5 separate regions of the Homo sapiens genome follow, and all the other regions are linked to region 5. The links are contacts of gene promoters, found by promoter capture Hi-C in blood cells and fetal thymus (Javierre and others, 2016). All regions are on one chromosome and are shown on one strand. Each heading gives the region's core, a stretch centred on a gene start or on the middle of the fragment in contact. The rest is flanking DNA. Distances are from core to core; before and after follow the strand shown. Region 1 overlaps DNAJC5 (DnaJ heat shock protein family (Hsp40) member C5). Region 2 holds the start of MIR647 (microRNA 647). Region 3 holds the start of ZBTB46 (zinc finger and BTB domain containing 46). Region 4 overlaps PRPF6 (pre-mRNA processing factor 6). Region 5 holds the start of SRMS (src-related kinase lacking C-terminal regulatory tyrosine and N-terminal myristylation sites).

Evidence for each region. Contacts are between HindIII fragments. The CHiCAGO score rates a contact against its expected background, and 5 or more counts as called.
Region 1: a contact is called between a fragment that was not itself captured here and the fragment with the promoter of SRMS in region 5, in 6 of 17 cell types (total CD4 T cells, naive CD4 T cells, naive CD8 T cells and 3 more). The highest score is 6.9, in total CD4 T cells.
Region 2: a fragment that was not itself captured here is called in contact with the fragment with the promoter of SRMS in region 5 in 4 of 17 cell types (total CD8 T cells, non-activated CD4 T cells, fetal thymus and 1 more); the score reaches 7.0 in total CD8 T cells.
Region 3: the fragment with the promoter of ZBTB46 here is called in contact with the fragment with the promoter of SRMS in region 5 in 2 of 17 cell types (total CD8 T cells and neutrophils); the score reaches 5.5 in total CD8 T cells.
Region 4: a fragment that was not itself captured here is called in contact with the fragment with the promoter of SRMS in region 5 in 8 of 17 cell types (naive CD4 T cells, erythroblasts, activated CD4 T cells and 5 more); the score reaches 8.3 in naive CD4 T cells.

Annotation. Positions count from the first base shown.
Region 1 is chr20:63,899,806-63,902,505 of GRCh38, reverse strand. All of the region lies in intron 1 of DNAJC5 (DnaJ heat shock protein family (Hsp40) member C5), which reads right to left. Among named protein-coding and RNA genes, the nearest start is that of DNAJC5, 6.0 kb to the right of the region's middle. The HindIII fragment of the contact is 9,931 bases long and covers 1-2,700 here.
Region 2 is chr20:63,941,542-63,944,241 of GRCh38, reverse strand. It overlaps UCKL1 (uridine-cytidine kinase 1 like 1), which reads left to right. Exons shown (of 15, transcript NM_017859.4): 8 at 573-589. It overlaps MIR647 (microRNA 647), which reads left to right and starts at 1,516; the gene lies at 1,516-1,611. MIR1914 (microRNA 1914) reads left to right here and starts at 2,698; the gene lies at 2,698-2,700. RefSeq lists enhancers at 499-1,210, 1,211-1,924. The HindIII fragment of the contact is 298 bases long and covers 1,128-1,425 here.
Region 3 is chr20:63,829,904-63,832,603 of GRCh38, reverse strand. ZBTB46 (zinc finger and BTB domain containing 46) reads left to right here and starts at 1,340. Exons shown (of 5, transcript NM_001369741.1): 1 at 1,340-1,507. RefSeq lists a silencer at 1,183-1,322. The HindIII fragment of the contact is 15,017 bases long and covers 1-2,700 here.
Region 4 is chr20:64,004,424-64,007,123 of GRCh38, reverse strand. The region is part of intron 9 of PRPF6 (pre-mRNA processing factor 6); the gene reads right to left. Among named protein-coding and RNA genes, the nearest start is that of PRPF6, 25 kb to the right of the region's middle. RefSeq lists a silencer at 1,858-2,030. The HindIII fragment of the contact is 5,259 bases long and covers 1-2,700 here.
Region 5 is chr20:63,546,423-63,549,209 of GRCh38, reverse strand. SRMS (src-related kinase lacking C-terminal regulatory tyrosine and N-terminal myristylation sites) reads left to right here and starts at 1,461. Exons shown (of 8, transcript NM_080823.4): 1 at 1,461-2,102. The coding sequence starts at 1,747. RefSeq lists an enhancer at 1,747-2,388. The HindIII fragment of the contact is 15,344 bases long and covers 1-2,787 here.

The sequences.
Region 1 (2,700 bases), core at 74-2,573, 350 kb before region 5:
TCCCAGCTACTCAGGAGGCTGAGGCTGGAGAATCACTTGAACCCAGAAGGCAGAGGTTGCGGTGAGCCAAGATCACACCGTTGCACTCCACCAGCCTGGGAAACAAGAGTGAAACTCCGTCTCAAAAAAAAAAAAAAAAAAAAAAAAGATGAGGCCAGGAGCAGTGGCTCACGCCTGTAATCCCAGCACTTTCGGAGGCCGAGCTGGGCGGATCACAAGGTCAGGAGATCGAGACCATCCTGGCTAACACGGTGAAACCCCATCTCTACTAAAAATACGAAAAATTAGCCGGGCGTGGTGGCGGGCGCCTGTAGTCCCAGCTACTCGGGAGGCTGAGGCAGGGGAATGGCGTGAACCCGGGAGGCGGAGCTTGCAGTGAGCCGAGATCGCGTCACTGCACTCCAGCCTGGGCGACAGCACAAGACTCTGTCCCCCACCCAAAAAAAAAAAGCATTATTATTTTAAAGAACACATCAAGAAAGAACTAACAAAATTTATTGCGACTGGCAAAAATGTAAAATCTCAGATTTTAACAGCTAGTCCTATCGCAGCAGCTAAAAGAACACCAAAGTGCTGTGGTAAAAGGCCCCGCAAGCAAAGGGGAAAGACAGACACCATCTGAGGGCTACGAACTTGGCAAGAGATGACAGAAGCTACAGTCTGTACTCCTGGACCCAGAATTTCCTTCGTTATTTGTCTTAGGGAAACCTTCTTACAATAAAACACAATCCTATTTAATAAAGAAAAATCCGATGGGACTGCTCAGCAAAGATCCAAACATTCGCTCTGCTGCTAATCCCTCCCAATAACAGGAGGAGCAAAATAAAAGCCAGGCAGGGCCGCACACTCCACACACTCCCTCTGCTGAGCTGCAGTCACTCCTCCCGTCAGGCACCTGCAGCCTCGTCCGGGGTAGAGGCCTCTGGCCTGGGCTCGCCTCCACTCTGAGACTGATGTGGAGCGCGCGGACGCAGCCTCTGGCACCTGAATTCAGCTCCTGCTTCTTCAAGGGTCAAGAGTAAGACGGGATATTTTCGTTCTGCAGTTTCACTAGAACACATTTCCACCCTACCTGGTGAAAAAATAGAGGCACAGGGCAGGGAGAGCTCTCCCCGAAGTCAGCCGCGCTCTAGAGACAGCAAGGAGGGCAGGGCACAGCCGATGGGGCTGGGAAGTCGATTCCATCTTCCGACCTGCCAGCATCATGATTTCATAACAGGCACAGAATGCCTCAGAACGCAGATTGAGCACAGTGGCTCATGCCTGTAAACCCAGCACCTTGGGAGGCCAAGGTGGGTTGATTACTTGAGTTCAGGAGTTTGAGACCAGCCTGGACAACATGGTGAAACCCCATCTCTACTAAAAATACAAAAATTAGCTGGGCGTGGTGGCACACGCCTGTAATTCCAGTTACTCAAGAGGCTGAGGCAGAAGAATCACTTGAACCCGGGAGGTGGAAGCGGCAGTGAGACACGATCGTGCCACTGCACTCCAGCCTGGATGACAGAGCGAGACTCCGTCTCAAACAAACAAAGAATCCCTGGACACAGCAATGCAGACACTACATGGCTCTGGACACTTCACCTCGTAAATGATTATTTCTGCTGGTGATACATGTTCAATGTAGAATATTTAAAGGGACAATACAATTATAAACCCATGAAAAATAAGATTCATTCACATCCATATTCAAGGAATCTTCACTAAGCACTCACAACACAACACAAAAATTTAAAAATGTCACTCAGGTTTAATATGTCAAGAATAAATGACAAAGTTCTCTGTCATAGAAATAAGTTTTTTGAAACCATTCATGCAAAATGTAGAATGATGTTGCAACAAAGTTAAATTGTGGCATATGCAGGTCTGTCCTGAGGAGGAAATTATTGATCAATACAGAACTTCCTTTTTTTTTTTTTTTTTTTTTTTGAGACAGTGTCTTGCTCTGTCGCCCAGGCTGGAGTGCAGTGGAGCAATCATGGCTTGCTGCAGCCTCAGCCTCCCAGGCTCAGGTGATCCTACCACCTCAGCCTCCGAGTAGCTGGGACTACAGCTGCATGTCACCATACCCGGCTAATTGTTTCTAGTTTTAGTACAGATGGGGTTTTGCTATGTTGCCCAGCCTGGTCTTCACTTCTGGACTCTAGCAATCCGCCTGCCTCGGCCTCTCAAAGTGCTGGGATTACAGGCATGAGCCACTGCACCAGCCCAGAATTTTCAGAGACATGTCCCAAACCTGGTCTAAGTACTTCTTTCTTTAGAAAATGAGATGCTGGTTGGACGATCACTTGAGTCCAGGAGCTCAAGACCAACTTGGGGCTGGGCTCAGTGGCTCACGCCTATAATCCCAGCACTTTGGGAGGCCAAAGTGGGTGGATCACCTGAGGTCAGGAGTTCAAGACCAGCCTGGCCAACATGGCAAAACCCCATCTCTACTAAAAATACAAAAATTAGCCGGGTGTCATGGCAGGCGCCTGTAATCCCAGCAACCCAGGAGGCTGAGGCAGGAGAATCACTTGAACCTAGGAGGCAGAGGTTGCCATGAGCGGAAACCGTACCGTTGTACTCAAGCCTGGGTGACAGAGTGAGACTCCGTCCCCCAACCAAAAAAAAAAAAAAAAAAAAGCCCAGGCGCAGTGGCTCACACCTGCAATCCCAGCACTTTGGGAGGCCAAGATGGGCGGATCACAAGGTCAGGAG
Region 2 (2,700 bases), core at 27-2,526, 400 kb before region 5:
CAGATTGTCCAGCCCAGACCCCATCCCGTTGTGCTGTGCAGGGCCTGGGTTCCCTGAGGAAGCTGGGGTGGGGGTACAGGTGCTCAGGACCCAGCCGAGGGTGCAGCCCGCTCAGCACACCCAGCCTGAGCTTTTGGGAAGACAGGCATGACCTGCTGGCCCAGGATTGTGGGGTTTCACTGCTGAGTCCCACGCCAGGCCAGGCTCCTCTCTTTCTCAGGGGGTCACCCCAGGAGCGACACCCCCACCAGAGGTCCCCTGCTCCCTGAGGCATTCTATGGCTGGGCCTTGGAGCCTGAGTGGCTCTGAACACACTCCCTACCAGGATGTTGAAGGCCTGAGGCCTGCAGAACAGAGCCCAGGGTCCTGGCTCTGATTGCCCCAACGCAGAACTGCAGGTCTGGCCCAGGTGGTCCCCAGGTTACAGGCATTAGAAGCTTGCCACCCCCCATGGCTGGCTGTGTCCCCGCGGGCCTGCAGCATGTCCATTCCTGGGTGGGGGTGGCCTGGCCGCCTGCCCTGGTCACTGACGCGCCACCGTTCCCTTGTGTCTTCCTGTGTTGCTGCCACAGCGTGAACTCAGCGTCAGGTAAGACTTGCACAGCTGTCTGCACAGATGGAGGCACTTCCAACACCTCCAAGGAGCTCTGGGGTCTGGGCTGTGATCCAGCCAGGCAGCTGGCTCTTCCCCAGTCACAGAAGGGGTGGTGTGGAGTGGTCCCAGCCCTGCTTCTGCCTCCCCTTGCTGGCAGATGAGGACACTGAGGCACAGAGACGTGAAGTAGCTTGCCCAGCGTCACGGAGTCCTGACCCTGTCCTGGCCAGACTTTGCTGGAGGCTCCCCTGACTCCTGAGTCTGTCTATGGGATTTGACCCCAGAGAGCACAGCTGTCCTCCTGAGCCAGCACTGCCAGGCCTCTGGGGCAGTGACTACAGACATGTCCCAGCAGCCAGGGAGCCTGCTGTACCTCCTGTGCCCAGCCTCACGGACCAGTCAGCTTTCCCTGGTTGCAGGTGGAGGGCCTCGCGCCTGTCCTCCCACCCACCCGGGTCCTGCTTGCCCCAGCTCTGTCCTCGCAGCCCGCACAGCTCTGCCAGCAGGAACTGGGCAACTGCAGCAAGAAGCTTGGGCTGGGCCGGGGCCGCATCCCACTGTCCCTCCCCAAGGGCAGGCATGCAGGGGGGTCAGCCACAAGGGACCTGCCCTTCTCCCTGCCTTCTGTGGGTTGGGAGGCTCCTGACTGAGCCACCTGGAGGGAGAGCCCTCACATTCAGAGCCCTCCAAAGAGTTTGCCAAATGTTGGAAATGCCTCCAGGGCCCGTCCACCAGCCGTCCAGCTTCCGGTGCCTGCATGAGTCTCCGCTTGGCCCTCTCCTCGGCCTAGGAACCCGCAGGTCTTGTCCCGTCAGGTTCCTCCTGAAGCTTTTGTTCTGAGAGGAAAAACTTTCCAGGGTTTCAAACTTGGAAAAACACCTGAACGCAGCCAGACACATTTTCCGTCGTCTGGTCAGCCAAGGAAGTGTTGGCCTGTGGCTGCACTCACTTCCTTCAGCCCCAGGAAGCCTTGGTCGGGGGCAGGAGGGAGGGTCAGGCAGGGCTGGGGGCCTGACCGCCCACACTCCTCCTCAGGCCTGCGGGGAACGCCCTGCTCCCCAACTAAGCAGCCTTCTCTTTGTTCTCTTCCTTCTCTCTGTAAACCCCCGTTTCCTGCCTTGTTCCCTCCCTGAACATGCTCTTCACCTGGCAAGCAGAGGAAGCTACGTTGGGATATGTGAGCAGTGTGCTCCGTGGTGCTGCTGTGTGACCCGCCTTCCCGTAGCCCCTTGCCCCGCTGCTCCCGCTAGGCCCTCTTTCCTGCTCCTGCCCCGCCCCTTTCCCTGCCGCTGTCACGCCTCTTTTCTGCCCTGCCACACCCCATTTCCGGCCCCGCCCCTTTCCCTGCCGCTGTCACGCCTCTTTTCTGCCCTGCCACACCCCATTCCCGGCCCCGCCCCTTTCCCTGCCGCTGTCACGCCTCTTTTCTGCCCTGCCACACCCCATTCCCGGCCCCGCCCCTTTCCCTGCCGCTGTCACGCCTCTTTTCTGCCCTGCCACACCCCATTCCCGGCCCCGCCCCTTTCCCTGCCGCTGTCACGCCTCTTTTCTGCCCTGCCACACCCCATTCCCGGCCCCGCCCCTTTCCCTGCCGCTGTCACGCCTCTTTTCTGCCCTGCCACACCCCATTCCCGGCCCCGCCCCTTTCCCTGCCGCTGTCACGCCTCTTTTCTGCCCTGCCACACCCAATTCCGTGCCCTGCCTCTTTCCTTCCCCTGCCACACCCAATTCTGTGGCCTGTCGCTTTCCTCTTCCTGCCCCTGCATCACCCCCTTTCCTGCCCCGCCCCATTCCCTGCCCCTGTCATGCCCCTTTCCGGCTTTGCCTCCTCCCTGTCCCACCTCTTTCTTGCCTCCACCCCGCCCTTTTCCTGCCCGCTCCTAGACCTGCTGCTGCCCCGGCCATCCCCAGGCTTGGGCAGCGGGGCGGGACGGGACAGCCAAGAGACACTGAGCCAGCTTTGCCCCCCACCCCCCTCTCTTGAGGGGCCGCGCACCACCTCGGGGAGGAGCCAGGGCGGGGCCTGACCCCACAAAGCTTTAGTTCCCCCGGGGAGAGGCTGGGGACAAGCTACCCATTCTGGGGTATGACACCTATCAGCACGT
Region 3 (2,700 bases), core at 91-2,590, 280 kb before region 5:
TGTCCCAGGCGTTGGTCCCGGCAGCCACACCTCGCTTCGCCTTTGCTCACTCATGGAGAGCCCTCAGCCGCCTCCCACTGCCGCTCCTGAATGCGCCTCACACATCCAGATTTGAAAGCACCCATAGGGCCGCCGCCTCCCACCTCCCGAGGAATCCGCTGCGCTGGGCCCGCAGGGAGGCAGGCTGGACGGCCCGGGCGCCTCCCCATTGGTTGGCCGGGCCGGGCTCGACTCCCTCGCGCGGCTGCCGGCCACAGGCTCACCTCCCTTCCCGCCGCGCCCGGGGAGAGGAAGCGAGGTGGCCTTTACCCCTGCGCAGGCCGGCCAGGAATGCGGGGCCGCGCTTCCCACTCTACCCGCCCGAGGGCTGAGGACGGCGGAGGCGAGAAGCGACGCGCAGAGTCCGGGCGCCGAGTGGTGGAGACGCGTCCCAGGCCGTTCGGATCGGGGCTGCACACGGGCTGGGGCGAGGCCCGGGCCGCTGGTTCCCGCCCCCTCCCGGAGCCATTCGTCCCCCGCAGACAACACGACGGGAGGGACCCACGCGCGGCCGCCGGTGCCCCTAGTCAGCCAAAAGCGAGCCCCACTGGCGGGCACCCCCACGAGGCCTGCGCCCGAGGTGCGCCGATCTCCGGGTGCGCCGAGGCCCCCGAGGGTAGGCGCGCGCGGTGCCCAGGCCCTTCCAGACCCCGCACCCCGGGCGGCCTTCCTTGGGGGCGCCTTTTCCGCACCGCGAGCGGCCCGCGTTGATGCCCGGCCGGGCTGGGGGAGTCGCCAAGTTTGCGAGACGCGCGCAGTGCAACCGCGCGTCAGGCGCGGGGACGGCCGGTGACCTGGGCACCCGCGCGCCCCCGAGGAACCTGCGCGTGGGCAGCGCCCGGTGCGCGGCCCGGGAAGGGAGCGGGTGCCCTCGCCGGGGTCGCCGCTCCCGTGGGGTGTTTCCAGGCTGCTCCGCGCTCGCGGGGCAAGGGCGCAGCGGGGGCCAGGGGGACCCCCGCGCCGCGCCGCCCCAGCCCCCCGCCAGCCCAGGGGAGGGGGCTTCCCACAATGCCCAGCGAGCTCCAGCCCGCACTTCCGCTGTCCGGCTGCCCGCGGGGGGGAGAACGGACCCCCGGCGCGGCCCCCTGCGACCCCGCGGCGCGGCGCCGGGAGCCGAGCGAGGGGCGGGGCCGGCGGCCGGGCCGGCGTGGGCGGGGCCCGGGGCGGTGGCCGCGGCCGGGGCGCGGCGCGGGCCAATCAGCGGCGGCCGGGCGCGCGCCGGGGGGCGGGGTCAGGGTCCGCGGGCGGGGCGCGCGCGCGCGGGCGGCGGGGGCCGCGGGGTTGGAGCGGGCGCGGGGGCGCGCGCCGGCCTGACGGACCGACGGACGGACGGACGGACCGAGCAGCCCCGGCGAGCGCGCAGCTCGGACCCGCCCGGACGCAGCGCCCTCCCGGCGGCGGCGGCGATCACCGGCGCCGGCCCGGCGGCCGCGGCGCCCGCCCTCGCCCGCGCCCCATGGGGTCACAGGTAAGCGGCGCCGGCTCATTGTCCGCGCGGCCGGGCGGGCGCATCGCGGCGGGGGCCGGGCCCGGAGCCGGGAGCCGGGAGCCGGGGCCGCTGCGAGCCCGGGCGCGCCCCCGCCGCCGGCCGCCCCGCCACGCCCCGCCCCGCGGGGGCGCCCTCCCGGGGGCCATCGGCGCTCCCAGCTGCGGCGCGGGCTCCGGGGGCGGCGGCGGAGACCCCGGCCCGGCCCCCGCGGGTGCCCCCCAGGCCGGCGGCGCGGGGCGGGGCGCGCGGGGGCGGCGCGGGTTCCCCGCGGGGCTGAGCGCGGAGGCGGCTGGGCTGCCCCGGCCCCTCGGCCCCCGGCACCTCCCGCCGCCGCCGCGCTCCCTCCCCGGCACCTCCGAGAGGGGAATTTTCCAGCTGGTAATTTCTGCTGCGTCAACGCCTGGCCCCGAGGCAGCCCGGGGGCGTCTTGGCGCCCCCCGCCCGCGCCCCCCGCCGGCACAGCCCAGCCGCACCCGGAGCCGCCCGCGCCGAGTTTGCCAAGAGTCGGAACTGCGGGAGGTGGGCGCGGGCGGGTCCCGGCGCCCTGAGGCCGGGGGGTCATTGTCTCCCCGGACGCCGGGCGCCGGCCTGGTCTCCATCTTAATCGCCGGCCGAACCGGGGCGCAGGGGCCTCGGGGCGGGGCGGCTCGGGGCGCGGAGGGCTCGGGGCGCGCGGGGCGGACGGGGCGCGCGGAGGAAGCGGGGTCCGCTGCGAGCCGCGTCTTTGTTTCTCTGTAAATAGACATGTCAGTTTCGCGGGGGAGCGCGAGCCGGTGTCTGACAACTCAATCCCTAAGGCAAACGGGGAATTCTCTGCGCCAGAGGGAGGGCTCCTGCTAGTTGGGGTTCCCCTGGCCCCGCTGACAGATTCACTGTTTGTAGGTTTAACGAAGCACACACAATAGGGCTGGACCGAGGAGCCAGGGTACAGACCAGATGGGGCGAAGAACGGATATTTTCTGACAGCGAAGAAATATAAACAAAAGAAAGTTTGAGATTCGCAGCGAATTTCCTCTCTCGCTTTCCGTGCTGCAATCTCAACGATGCATTTGGAGTGGATTACGGTGGCAAGATTGTGATCAGCATTGTTTAAAGAAATGCTAATTAGAAACGTGTTTAGCGCGCGGCCTGGGCGCAGACACCTGTGCGCCGAGAACTCACGGGCATTTTAA
Region 4 (2,700 bases), core at 94-2,593, 460 kb before region 5:
AGCACAGCTGCCTAAGCTATGGGGCAGATGCCTCCTGCACTGGTGGCTGCTCAACCGCTTTCCTCCCTCAGCCCACACTGACAACCTCTGGGGAGTCCCTTAGGGTCAAGGGACTGAGAAGACAAAAGTCTGCTGTGGTTTACGCATGGTTCTGCACAGCACACTGGCACTGACACCCCTGGCCTTATTATCTGGATGTCCACTTGACCAACTGAAAGACGGCCAGAAGACGAAGCTATATGAATTCACCGATTCAGGCAGAACATGGTCTTACCATGTGCCCATCACTCAGAGCCATGGCCTGGCAGCCCAGTAGGATGCCACAAATGCTGTGAATAGACACCAATCCCGGCTGGATCTCACAGCCAGAACACACGGGTCTAGGAATAAACAGTGATGTCTGAATGGCTCAAGTCCCATCTCCGCTGCCACAAGTCCCGTCTCCACTGCCAAGAGTCCCGTCTCCGCCTCCTTGGACCCTCCTGTCAAGAGAGCTGGTCCAAAGGCCGGGTGTGGTGGCTCACATTTGTAATCCCAGCACTTTGGGAAGCTGAAGCGGGTGGATCATGAGGTCAGGAGTTCGAGACCAGCCTGGCCAACACAGTGAAACCAAACCCCATCTCTATTAAAAATACAAAAATTAGTCGGGTGTGGTGGCAGGTGCCTGTAATCCCATCTACTTGGGAGGCTGAGGCAAGAGAATTCCTTGAACCCAGGAGGCGGAGGTTGCAGTGAGCCGAGATTGCGCCACTGCACTCTAGCCTGGGCAACAGAGCAAGACTCAGTCTCAAAAAAAAAAAAAAAAAAGAGCAAGCTACGAGCTACTCCAAAGGGAGTATGTGCCAACCAGGGTGCAGACCACAGCTCCCTCTGGCCTCCTCATGTACCAGCCCTGGCTGGAGAGGCTAACCCTGACTCCCAAAGCGAGACTGAGTTGCTGCCACCCACTGTGGGAGACTATCTAGAGGCCAGTCCTAAAAACAGTTTAGTATTTCTGCTTTTACCAGTAAAAGTTAATGGGAACTACAGCCACCAAAAAAGCAAAACTACCAACAAGTCAGACCCTTTGGGGATAAAGATATGGGTCCTGGCTGAGCACAGTGGCCCCCATCTGCAGTCCCAGCATTTTGGGAGACTGAGGTGGGAGGATCACTTGAGCCCAGGAGTTTAAAACCAGCCTGGATGACACAGGGAGACCTCGTCTCTTTGAAAAATTAAAAACTCAGCCAGGCATGGTGGTATGTCCCTGGAGTCCCAGCTATTCAGGAAGCTGAGACTGGAGGATAGTTTGAGTCTGGGAGGTTGAGGCTTCAGTGACCCATGATCATGCCACTGCACTCCAGCCTAGGCAACAGAGCAAGATCCTGTCTCAAAATAAAAATTATTTAGGCATGGTAGTATGTACCTATGGTCCCAGCTACTCAAGAGCCAGAAGCAGGAGGATCACTACAGCCCAGGAGGTTGAGGCTGCAGTGAGCTGATTGCAACACTGCTCTCCAGCCTGGGCAATAGGACGAGGCTCTGTCTAAAACAAAAAAAAGATTTGGGTTACTCATCCAGGTCAAGAACCCTGACCAAGCAGGGTGACAGCAGAGGGCACAGCAGTAAAGAAGGAAAGTCCTAACCTCCAACCAGGCGACTAGGCATAGAGAGAAGACACAGAACGACCCAGTTGTTTTTCCTGTGCGCTCTCACCTCGACTGCGTGGGAGATGAGTGCTCTATTTGTCTAAATATGAACTACTTCCCTTAATACTTTGTACATTGGTGGAGATGAACTTCGCGTCTCTAAAGAACAGAATATTCATGCGGGACTCAATTTATGGAGTCATTAACTTACGACTCCCAGGACTCTGTGTCTTCAAGTTTTGGGAGAGAGCTGACATATCTCCATGGCATCTCATCAGCAGCCCACAGGCATGGCACTAAAACCAACAAGGTCACCTTCCCCAGGTGCTTTCGGAAGCCACATGGCACACCATGATACAATGGCCTTCAAGGAGTGTGACTTTATGAGCAGAAGTGGAGGAAGCACACACCCCTGAAGTTGGCCTAGAACAGAAGAGTATTCTGAATGCTAGACACAGCCATGAAGACGTGACCGTGCAGAGGCCAACATGCTCTCCGGGGGTCACGTGACTGCAGGGAAGACCCTCAACCTGAACTGTGCCATTCCTGTGCCCCCAGAGGGACACGCTGGCGACGGCCACTGAAGGATGCCACGCTTCACAGGCCAGAGCATATGGCGTTAGTGTAAAATAACTCCACTTCCACACATCTGCATTAACTAGCGGAGTACACAGCATGTGAGTGCATTATTGTAGGGGAGCTGCCAGTCGGGCCTCCCCAGGGGACTCTGCACGTGGGACACCCCACCCTGGCCAGGAAGCTCACATGCTGCACCCTCCCCAATCCTGAAAGCCCTCTTCCCTTTTACAGAGGAAGACATGGAAGCTCAGAGGCCAAGCACCATGCCTAAGGTTACTCAGCCTCCTCAGGTCTCAAGATCAGCACCCAAAACGCCCATTCTCCCAACAAAGGACTAAGGTGTCAGCTCAGCCCAACAGCGACCCAGAGCTCACAGAGACCATGCACTGCCAGGCTCCCTGGCTGGCAGGTGTCCTAAGTCACCAGTGGAAGTAGCTGTCATCTTAATTTCAAAAACCAGACCCTTCAAGCAACGTGTAAGTGTTTGCTAATA
Region 5 (2,787 bases), core at 212-2,711:
GGGGGGAGGAGAGGGCGGCGGGGGCGGGAGGAGAGGGCGGCGGGGGGAAGCGCGGGAGGAGAAGGCGCTGGGGCCCCTCGAAGGCCACCCCCAATGTAGTATTTACAATTCTCCACATTTCTCAACACCCCCCACCACCCCCAGCAGGGCACCTCTCTGGTGCAGAGCCTGCCCTGAGCCTGGCGATGTCCAGTCTCCCAGGGCCCCTGCTGGCTCCAGGCTATCAGCCCGGACACAGCTTGGCTGCTGGGGTGCCCTGAGAGCCAGGCCACGGGTGTCACTGCCACCCCACAATGCACACACCAGTCCCCAGACGTGAGGTTTCTGAGAAGCCCATCTGTGACTCCAGGGCAGGCAGGTGCGAGGGGCTTGTCATTGGCTGGACACTGGTCACGCCTATTGGAGGGATGCATTCAGCCACACGCATGAAGTGGGGGCATGGATGCGTGTGAGATGTGGGAAAGGGGCGTGAGGCTCCCTGAAGGCCACCCAGGTGCGGAAGGGGCTGCTGGGGGAGGCCGGCAGGAGGAGTGAGAGACTGCAGATGGCCTCACCCCACCCCCGTGCCTCAGGACCCAGAGGGGAGGTGGGAGGAGTGAGAGACTGCAGATGGCCCCCACCCCACCCCACTCAGGACCCGGAGGGGATGTGGGAGGAGAGAGAGACTGCAGATGGCCACCACCCCATCCTCCTGCCTCAGGACCCTGTACCGTGCTGCTGGGTTTTGCTGGGATTTGCTCCCCCAGTCCTGCCCCGATCTGGGGACCTACCTGAGCGGGCAGAGTTTGCTTCAGCATGCGGGGGCTTGGCGCTGTCCAGGGAGAGGGTGGGAGGTCCCCAGCCAGGGACTCACCCGCCGCCCCTTCTCCGTGTGCTCATCCCCCTGAACTGGGGCCAGGCGTCCGCAGCCTCCACTTCCCCGCAGTGGCCTTTGGGTATGGCCTGGGCATTGACTGACTCAGAAGCCGGTCATCGGGCAGCATGGGGCATCTGGGTGCCTGGCCTGCGGCCGAGCTCCCTGCAATCAGCATCTCGTTTTACTGCATGAAAGCCGGGGTGCTGAGAGCCCCCTCACTCGCCTGTCCTCAGAATTTACTGCAGAGGCCGGAGGCTCGGCACCTGGTGCAGGGTTAATGATGTTAAAATATCTGGCCAACACTTAAATAAGCAGGCAATTTTTCACCTGAGTGCAGCTCAGGCTTGGCAACCACTGCAGGTGCTGAACAGCAGCGCTTCTCCGTGGAACCCCCACTTCTCCGTGGGCACGGGCGGCTGTTGGACTGTGGTGCCCTTGGGCATGGGCCAGGCCTGACTGGGCAGAGCCATTCCGCCTGCCTGGGCCTTGCAGAGGGCGGGAGAGAGGCTGGCCCTGCCCACCCCGCCCTCCTCGGGCCCCTCCTGGAGCCCGCCCCCGCCCCAGCCCAAGCTGCCCTCTGCCGTCGGGTTGGGGAGGGGACGGTGCACTCCAGACGCCAAGGAGGTCGAGGACAGGAGGTGCTGTCGGTGTGCCTGAGGCAGGGGGTCCGCCCTGCGCCCCACCCAGCCCCAACGCCAGCCCGGACGCCGGTGGGAACCGTGTGCCTCCTGGATCCAGGGGACCTCTGAGTGACCGCAGGGCCGGGGTCCCCTGTCACCCCACGGCCAGGGCAGGGAGCGCTGGACACCGGGTCCCACCGGCCCTGCCAGTTCCTCTTCCGGGCTCGCGGGCTCCCATGGCCCTCGGGCCCAGCGTGGTGACCCCGGGGGATGGAGCCGTTCCTCAGGAGGCGGCTGGCCTTCCTGTCCTTCTTCTGGGACAAGATCTGGCCGGCGGGCGGCGAGCCGGACCATGGCACCCCCGGGTCCCTGGACCCCAACACTGACCCAGTGCCCACGCTCCCCGCCGAGCCTTGCAGCCCCTTCCCTCAGCTCTTCCTTGCGCTCTATGACTTCACGGCGCGGTGTGGCGGGGAGCTGAGTGTCCGCCGCGGGGACAGGCTCTGTGCCCTCGAAGAGGGGGGCGGCTACATCTTCGCACGCAGGCTTTCGGGCCAGCCCAGCGCCGGGCTCGTGCCCATCACCCACGTGGCCAAGGCTTCTCCTGAGACGCTCTCAGACCAACCGTGAGTACCTCGGCCTCGGAGTCAGAGCCTGCCTCGCCCCCAGCTGGGGAGTCCAGAACAACGGCAGGATTTTGAGTTGGAAATCGCATGTCCGTGGCTATCTGTTCATTCATTCGTTCATCCACGCATTCATTCAGGGACAGCTGATGGGCCCCGGGCCGGCAGGTGTGGTAGGAAAACAGCAGTGTCCGCTGTGGGCTGCCGAGAGGGAGAGGAGGCTCCGGCAGGCGTGGTCAGGTCCTGTGGGGGGGAGCATCAGCTGCACCAGCTGGACACCCAGCAGGCGGTTCCTCCAGGACCCTGCCTGGCTGGCCAGGCCCTCCCGCCCTCACACAGGGAGTCCAGTGTTCATGGATCGGTCACTGCTTGGAGGGCAGGGGCTGGGGGCTGGGAGGCACCAGATGACAGGAGCTCCAGGAGCTCTGGGTGACGGCAGGTGAGCAGGGGCTGGGGGCTGGGGGCTGAGACAGGGGCCCATGCTCCAGGAACTCTGGGTGAGGGCAGGTGAGCAGGGGCTGGGGGCTGAGACGGGCCCACGCTCCAGGAGCTCTGGGTGAAGGCAGGTGAGCAGGGGCTGGGACTGGGGGCTGAGACAGGGGCCCACGCTCCAGGAGCTCTGGGTGAGGGCAGGTGAGCAGGGGTTGCAGAGGCGCCTAGTCCAGATGCCCAGTGCGGCTGCTCTGAG